Regions from separate parts of the Homo sapiens genome. Here region 1 is linked to region 2. The links are contacts of gene promoters, found by promoter capture Hi-C in blood cells and fetal thymus (Javierre and others, 2016). All regions are on one chromosome and are shown on one strand. Each heading gives the region's core, a stretch centred on a gene start or on the middle of the fragment in contact. The rest is flanking DNA. Distances are from core to core; before and after follow the strand shown.

What was found. Contacts are between HindIII fragments. The CHiCAGO score rates a contact against its expected background, and 5 or more counts as called.
Region 1: a contact is called between a fragment that was not itself captured here and the fragment with the promoter of CEP170 in region 2, in 5 of 17 cell types (neutrophils, fetal thymus, monocytes and 2 more). The highest score is 12.5, in neutrophils.

What each region holds. Positions count from the first base shown.
Region 1 is chr1:244,273,279-244,277,573 of GRCh38, forward strand. All of the region lies in intron 1 of LOC105373262 (a long non-coding RNA gene), which reads right to left. Among named protein-coding and RNA genes, the nearest start is that of SPMIP3, 77 kb to the right of the region's middle. RefSeq lists a silencer at 1-10. The HindIII fragment of the contact is 6,583 bases long and covers 1-4,295 here.
Region 2 is chr1:243,252,155-243,256,530 of GRCh38, forward strand. It overlaps CEP170 (centrosomal protein 170), which reads right to left and starts at 3,127. Exons shown (of 20, transcript NM_014812.3): 1 at 2,886-3,127. SDCCAG8 (SHH signaling and ciliogenesis regulator SDCCAG8) reads left to right here and starts at 3,887. Exons shown (of 18, transcript NM_006642.5): 1 at 3,887-4,086. The coding sequence starts at 4,020. The HindIII fragment of the contact is 10,208 bases long and covers 1,647-4,376 here.

The sequences.
Region 1 (4,295 bases), core at 876-3,375, 1.0 Mb after region 2:
AAGACGTTGGAAGGGTTCTTCAAAATATTCACATGGACTTTCATTTAAGACATTTCTTGTATCGTTTGGGGAAAACATCAATGGGATTTGGAGTCAGAATGTTGGTTCCTGCGTTTAAGCTCTGTCAGTGATTTGTGACATCATCCCTGAGCAAATAATTTCATTTTTAGGAACCTGTTTTCTCATCTGTAAAATGGAGGTCATAATAAATGTTTGATTCTTGGAGTTTTGTAGTGTTTACATAAGATCATGCATATGAAGAGTGCCTTGTCCACTTTAAAATCATATGCACATGAATATATTAAAAATCCCTAGAGAAGTAGTTTCTATCATCATACTTGGTAAAACTTTAGAAACTTGAAATCGGTTTCAATGACTAACCTTACTATAGTCTAAAGCCCTGGCCTCAGAATAAAGAGAAGGACTTTACACTGTCTCATGCTTTCCTAAAGATACATACTGCCAAGTCCTCTCCGTTTTCATTTTTCTGATTTAAGTCAAGTCAGTTTCTTCGGCCTTGCTTCACGGGGCCAGCCAATGAATAATGAGGAGTGTAGATGCGTCTTGGGAGGTGAAATAACTTTGCTTACATGGAATCGCAAAGTGCTCATTAGTGTGGGGGCTTAGGTATTTGGCTCCCTCGTCTTTTGGAAAAAGCCCAAACCAGACACAGCAGCTAAAGGAGCCCTCATAGGATGTCTGTGCTGCACGATGCTGACGCAAGATGACTCATCACACACTAGCTGGGTTTGGCCACTGCTTCTGTGCAGCTGTTTGCAGAAAGCCAAAAATTTCTGGTGCCAAGCTGGGGGCTTGGTGAACAAACCCAAATGTTACTGTCCTCATCTCCTGCTAAATTTCAGTCCTGCTCGGGCCGTGGCCCAACCAGTGTTAAGTCTACTGATGAAAGTCCAAGTCACTGTCCTCTGTGCCCTCTCGTTACTGTGTCCTCAGGTTACTGAATTTATCATTCATCTCACTGATGCATAAGGTAGGCTTAGGGTACATTTGGCAGCAGGATCAATAGTTTTGCAAAGAGAAAATAGATGCCAGCCAAAGGAACATCGAATCCTTGGGCGAATGATGAGGACGGATGACTCATGTCCAGGCCATCTTCCCTCCGGGCTGGGCTCCGCTGTCTCCATACTCACCTTCTGTCTCCAAGTTTGGTTCACTAGGCCCATCCTCAGGAAGCCTCCCTTAGGATCCAGGATGAGTCACCAGCACCCCAAGTGTGCTCGCTGGTGAGGATTATAGGAGGGGGAGGTAGGCTGTGTCTACAGGAGATCCTGGGGCACATCTGGGGGATGGAGGTGAAAGGTTATCCCTCTGTCCTACAGAATGAGGGTCCCCCTTCAATCCCCTAGAGGTGACATGCCAGAACGCCTGAATCAGAGAAGGCACTCATTCCTCCCACCTAACTCTTTTTATTTTTTTTAATACTGAGTCTTGCTCTGTCACTCAGGCTGGAGGGCAGTGGTGGGCTCCCAGATCACTGCAACCTCCGCCTCTCAGGTTCAAGTGATTCTCCTGCCTCAGCCTCCCGAGTAGCTGGGATTATAAGTGCACACCACCATGCCCAGCTAACTTTTGTATTTTTGGTAGAGATGGGGTTTCATCATGTTGGCCAGGCTGGTCTCGAACTCCTGACCTCAAGCAATCCACCTGTCTTGGCCTCCCAAAGTGCTGGGATTACAGGCGTGAGCCATTGCACCCGGCCTCTTCCACCAAACTCTTACAGGGTTATCCCAGAATCTTCCAGAGACACCACCCTGTGGATGCAACCTGGGGCTTTCTTCTCCACAGGCCATGTCTGAAAATAGGAGGTTCTTCCTCTCTTCCACACTGGGAGAGAGATAGCAGTCAGGGAGAGAGAGCAGACGGGGAGAGAGATAGCAGTCAGGGAGAGATAGCAGTCAGGGAGAGATAGCAGTCAGGGAGAGAGATAGCAGTCAGGGAGAGAGAGCAGACAGGGAGAGAGATAGCAGTCAGGGAGAGAGATAGCAGTCAGAGAGAGAGAGAGCAGACAGAGAGAGATAGCAGACAGGGAGAGATAGCAGACAGGGAGAGATAGTCAGAGATAGATAGCAGATGGGGAGAGATAGCAGTCGGGGAGACATAGCAGTCAGGGAGAGAGATAGCAGTCCGACAGAGATAACAGACAGGGAGAGATAGCAGTCGGGGAGAGATAGCAGTCAGGGAGAGATAGCAGTGAGGGAGAGATAGCAGTGAGGGAGAGATAGCAGTCAGAGAGAGAGATAGCAGTGAGGGAGAGAGATAGCAGTGAGGGAGAGATAGCAGACAGAGAGAGAGATAGCAGTGAGGGAGAGAGATAGCAGTGAGGGAGAGAGATAGCAGTCAGGGAGAGATAGCAGTGAGGGAGAGAGATAGCAGACAGAGAGAGAGATAGCAGTGAGGGAGAGAGATAGCAGACAAAGAGAGAGATAGCAGTGAGGGAGAGAGATAGCAGACAGAGAGAGAGATAGCAGTGAGGGAGAGACAGCAGTGAGGGAGAGAGATAGCAGTGAGGGAGAGAGATAGCAGACAGAGAGATAGCAGTGAGGGAGAGATAGCAGTGAGGGAGAGAGATAGCAGTGAGGGAGAGAGATAGCAGTGAGGGAGAGTGATAGCAGTGAGGGAGAGAGATAGCAGTGAGGGAGAGAGATAGCAGTGAGGGAGAGAGATAACAGTGAGGGAGAGATAGCAGTGAGGGAGAAATAGCAGTCAGGGAGAGATAGCAGTGAGGGAGAGAGATAGCAGTGAGGGAGAGAGATAGCAGTGAGGGAGAGAGATAACAGTGAGGGAGAGATAGCAGTGAGGGAGAAATAGCAGTCAGGGAGAGATAGCAGTGAGGGAGAGAGATAGCAGTGAGGGAGAGAGATAGCAGTGAGGGAGAGAGATAGCAGTGAGGGAGAGAGATAGCAGTCAGGAAGAGATAGCAGTCAGAGAGAGAGATAGCAGTCAGGGAGAGATAGCAGTCAGGGAGAGATAGCAGTGAGGGAGAGAGATAGCAGTGAGGGAGAGAGCAGTGAGGGAGAGATAGCAGGCAAAGAGAGAGATAGCAGTGAGGGAGAGATAGCAGGCAAAGAGAGAGATAGCAGTCAGGGAGAAAGAGAGCAGTCAGAGAGAGATAGCAGTCAGGGAGAGAGAGAGCAGTGAGGGAGAGATAGCAGGCAAAGAGAGAGATAGCAGTCAGAGAGAGAGATAGCAGTCAGAGAGAGATAGCAGTAAGGGAGAGACAGCAGACAGAGAGGGATAGCAGACAGAGAGAGAGATAGCAGTGAGGGAGAGAGAGCAGTCTGGGTTTTCCTTCAGGAAGGTGCGAGAAGGTGAGGTTTTCTTTAGAGGTTTTTCATGTTCTTTTTAAACACTTAACATGAGCCAAATGAGAGTGGGAATTAAAGGTATGATGGCCAAATCTGACCTGAAGCACCCACTGTCTAACAAGAGCGGAACTGGTGATGGCCACAATAATACTGCAGACATCTCTTGGAGTTTTCTGTAATACATGGAAAAACACCAGCCTTGGAAACTCAGACATCTGGGTTTGAGTGCCAGCCACGAGGCTAAAAGATTCCAGAAGGCCAGAGGGGGAGAGTGTCAGAGTCCACTGCTAGACTGACTGGATGTCTTCACATACAGGACTGGCAAACGGACACTTGTAAGTTTGGAAAATTTGACAGCAAAACAACAGAGAAGGGGGCACTGCCAGCTTTAAATACAATCCAATGAATTAATTTATTTGGAGAAATAATCTCATTTTAGGATATTCTTTTTTATTTATTTAGGATAAACCTATTAATAAAACGGGTAATATGTTACCTGTCCTCTAAATCTGATCTCACAAAAGTGTGAGAAGGAGCAGGGGTCAGGGGATTAGGGGGAAGGGGTGGAGTTTAGGCAGAGACTAGAGTCTCTTCAGACTTTCAGTTTTCTAGATCATATATAAATCACTTTTTTAAAACTTTTATTTTAGGTTCAGGGTTACATGTGCAGGTCTGTTTGTTTATTTTTGAGATGCAGTCTCACCCTGTTGCCCAGGCTAGAGTGCAGTGGCGTGATCTTGGCTCACTGCAACCCGCACCTCTCGGGTTCAAGCGAATCTCCTGCCTCAGCCTCCCAAGTAGCTGGGACTACAGGTGCGTGACACCACTCCCGGCTAATTTTTATATTTCTAGTAGAGACGGGGCTTCACCATGTTGGCCAGGCTGGTCTCAAACTCCTGACCTCAGGTGATCTGTCTGCTTCAGCCTTCCAAAGTGCTGGGATTACAGGCATGAGCCACCAGGCCCGGC
Region 2 (4,376 bases), core at 1,877-4,376:
TACTCACCAAGCATTCTTCAAATGGCACGTAACTGCTCTTTTGTTATACTTCCAGAATAATTTGCAACTGTACAGATACTTTAGTTAGCAATTAAATATCAGGTTGTCTGTCAGATACTTAGTTGAAGAGTACACTGCTTAACATCCCAGTGTTTGGGACAGATAAGAAAGAAAAGTCTTTACCTATTAATTAGTATAGAAAAAATATTTTTCAGGAATACAATTTTGTGGAATAAAAAACATTTTGACAAAAAAGCTTAAGCATATACAATATTTAGTACTAGATGAGCATTATCTAATTGCAATCAGATACAATAATAAAACTAGTTCTTTTTTTCAGTAGATAAAAAGGAACAAGAAACTGATACTTGGAACAAATCAAATAAATCACGAAGCACAGAATTTTAAAAAGTACCATAACAGCATTAATATGCAGAATGTATGCTAAGGTTTACAGTATAAATTTCACTATTCTAATGTTAAAATAGGGAACAGGCAGATTATTTCCATACAAAATAATCTCAGAACACAATGAAATTTACCAGTAAAATACATTTAAAGCATGATTGAATATAATCCCACATACTGAAATTTAGTTACAGATTTTTAAAGTTGAAATTTAAGATAAATAATAAATCCTTTAAAGAAGTCTATTAAAATGCAACGTAAAATTAAACGATTAAAATTATAAGGGAAGAAAAAAGCACTTTATGGCAAAATCAACCCAATAAAAAACATAAAGTTAATATATCTTAAAATGTAAATTCTAGTTTAAGTTAAAAGTAATCACTAATAACTCATTAATGATTACAACTCATTAACTGTGGCAAAATAAACATCATAGGTTCTTGTTATGCGGAAATTTTATTTTTAACACAGCCTATAGAGTTGATCATCATACTATTATAAAATACTATTGATTTTCAAGAAATAATATTAAAACCTACCGTTAAGTAGCTACCATTAGGTAGTAGGGAAAACACTGCAACACTTCGTTTTTATGAAAAGCACATGTTAGGACATCTTTCCTCATGTAGTAAGTTACTTTATGAAAGTAAAGGTCCATTTTAGGAGGATTACTACTTTTACATCACAAAGGCAAGAACTAGATTAATCACGGTGAGAATCAAGTTCAGTGATAGTCACAGCCTACTCAGGGAGCACATAGAGAAGCTTTCCATACATTTTCACAAGGTAAAAGGGCTAGGGGGACACAGGAAAGATCACTCTGCAGAATGGACCTTGAGTTTCGTTTGGCTCTGCCTTCGATTAACTGTCTGGCTTGGGCAGACAAGTCAGTTAACTTTCTGAGTTTTAGTGTCTTCCTCTGTCAAGTGCACTTGGGCTCTTCCGTGTTATCTACAAAGTTAGGAAGAGCTAAAGGCAGCCCTAGTTTTACTTTTTAAAAAATAATAACAGAAAAATACATAAGTTGCTATTCATCAGTGTACTGTTTCCAGAGCTGAATTCCTAAGTCTCTGAAGCATACCCAGTTAGGGTTATACCAGTGAAGATCCAGATACTATAGTCATAATGTCACTCTCTCCTCTCCCATTATTCCTCCACCTGCTCCTCCCCATCCTGCTTTATTCTCTCTTCTGGTGTGTTTTAAGAAGCAACGCCAGCAAACGGCTGCATACATTGTAAGCTTAAGGATTAAATCATTTTAAAATATGCATTTTCAATCAAATGTATCATCTGCTTCGCCAAATTCCTCCCAAATGGCTGAATTTTCATTAAGAGAATAAAAATGAGTTAACAACTTCGGTAACAGAAATGTACTGGGCCAGTTGTTTTGTTTGTTTTACTTGCTTAAAAAATAAACGGAAAGATGTATCCATTCCCTCAGGAACATAAATGCATTACCTGCCCAATGAAAAAACAATTCTGCTTGTTCATTTCCCTGACACAACAGCTTCGTTGTCAGGCCCTCTCTAGCCCAGGCTCCAACGTCACCTAGTAATTTTATATTGATCACCTTGGCAGTGCTTGGACTCCAGCAGGCATAGTCCCTGTCTTCCTTACATTCCTCAAAATAAATAAATAAATAAATAAATAAATAAATAAAACTCTACGAAACACCACCGAACAGAGATTCTGTGACTTAGTATACAAATCCCACGTCTTCCCGCCCTGTGTTAGGCAGCTGCAAATGTTATTTTTTCATCGCTTGCATAAAATGGAAGCGAAACGTACCAAAACCCTACATCTGAATCCTAGGACAATGAAGCCGACAGGAAGCCACTCTCTCCTCCCCCGGGTTTACTACAGAGCCAGAGCCTCCACGGGGTGCAGTCGCCAGGCAGGGTGCATGACACCGCGTCTTCCACGCCCTCCCAACGCGTCCAAAAGGTTGCTCGCCTGACCTCGCCAACCGCCTCACACCCCAAAACCAATCACACAAAAGGGATTGGCCCGGGGAGCTGCTCCAATGGGGGAAAAATCCCTTCCCCAGCGGCAGCGCAGCCATTCCCTCCAATGCTCCGCCCGCACCCCTCGCAAACTGCTACGGCGGAGGGGGGAGGGCTGCACAAAGCCAGTCGAAAGCTGAAAATGATTCAATGCACTTAGGGGATGCGGAGGCGGCAGCAAGGGGCTCGGGAAAGCCGGGGGGCCGCAGGACTGGAGCTCCGGGGGGCGGCGGGTGGGGGATGGGAAGGGTGGTCCCGTCAAGCCCCGGGTCCCAGGCGGGCAGAGGGTGGGGGTGGCGGCGCCGCGCGGAGCACCCGGGAAGCGCCCCCTTCGCGGTCCAGCCCCGCACCCCCGCCCCGCGGCGGGCGGCGCCCGAGTCCTCGCCGCAAACCCGAGGAGCAGGATGTGGAAAGCAGCCGCGGCGGTGGCTGCGGCTGCGGCGCCTACACCGAGCAGCCGATCGCATCACTTACCCCTTACCGTGGAGAGAGGGACCGGACGGGGGAGGCGGGGCGCGTCGCGTCCCGTGAGTCTCTCGCACGCCGTCCTCCCCCCACCTCGTCGTCGTCGTCGTCGCCGCTGTTGTCGTCGCTGCCGCTGCGGTCGAGCTCCGGGGCCCTCAGCTCCGCTGGGCAATAACGTTATTCCACACACGCCCCACACATAGCGGTAACGGCAAAGACCGACTGCCTAGTGCGCAGGCGCCTCGGGAAAGGGCGAGGAGCCGGACCCTATCCCCTCCTGCCCAGTTCCAACGATCCCTTACTGCGCAGGCGCCACACACAGACAATGAAAAGGGGTTGTGCGAGGGTCTCACCCACACGCTTTTCCAGCTTGCCCACTGCGCAGGCGTGCCCCGAAAGACCAGCTTGAACAATGAAGAGGACCTCGGCGTTAGGTGGGACCGCAACCAACAAGGACTACAGTTCCCAGCGGGCAGAGCGCCAACTCCAAGTGAAGGTCCGGTTGCTGGGCATGCTAGGAGTTGTAGTGTCGGCCGCCTTTACAATCTAGGCTGTTTGGAAGATTTAGAGCTTCTATTTCTTGAAGATTTATTCGACCGTTTTAAAAAATCTCGCAACTGAAGCAGGGTTCAGAGTTTACTATCTGCGTCCTTGAGTAGCCTGGGGATCAACTGCTGCATATTAGCAAATTTCGAAGCGTCAAGGCCTTCAGTGAGCCCTTTCTGTCATTTGGGTGGTCCAGGCAGCTGAAGAGTGGGATGGAGGCGGGACTAAACCAGGCTGGGCTGGAGGAAAAGGGCGGGGCCTGCAAGCCTGTCTCTTGGCAGCAGGCTCTGGCAGCCAAACCGTCCAAGCTAGCGCCTGGAGCGCAGTGGTTTCTGGGAATTGTAGTGTAACTGGAAGGCCCTGAGGATTGTCGAGCTTGCAGGTTCTGAACGTGAGGACTACAACTCCCGACGTGCAAAGCGAGGGCCAGTGGGTGGGAAGAGCCCCCAAGAGCTCTGTGCGGGATTCTAGGCTCCCCTGTGACAGCCGCGGCAGGAAGCAGGCGGGCGCTCCCCGGCCACAGGCCTGTTGTTCTCGGAAGGGAGAAAGCTGGACATTTCCCCACGTAACTCCCAGCTCTGGGCCTAGAGTGCGTGCATGGCGAAGTCCCCGGAGAACTCTACCCTGGAGGAGATTCTGGGGCAGTATCAACGGAGTCTCCGGGGTGAGTTGCTCCAAACCTCTGTCCCTAGCCCCGAGGTGCCCAGGGCCTAGTGGGCGGGAGCAGACCAGGTGCGTTTCCTAACACCTGGGTTCTGCCCCGTCCACGCTACAGAGGAGCAAGATGGATGTTGCTGTGGTCTTGAGGAGGATGAAATAGTTTGATTTAGTTTTTACAGTTAAGCAACGATGTTTCCTCAGATTCCCGTAGTTACCTCAATCAACTCCTTGATCTTAACTTGGCATCTTTCTCAACCGGCGACAGCAGAAACTCTTGGATAGCTCTATGCCATT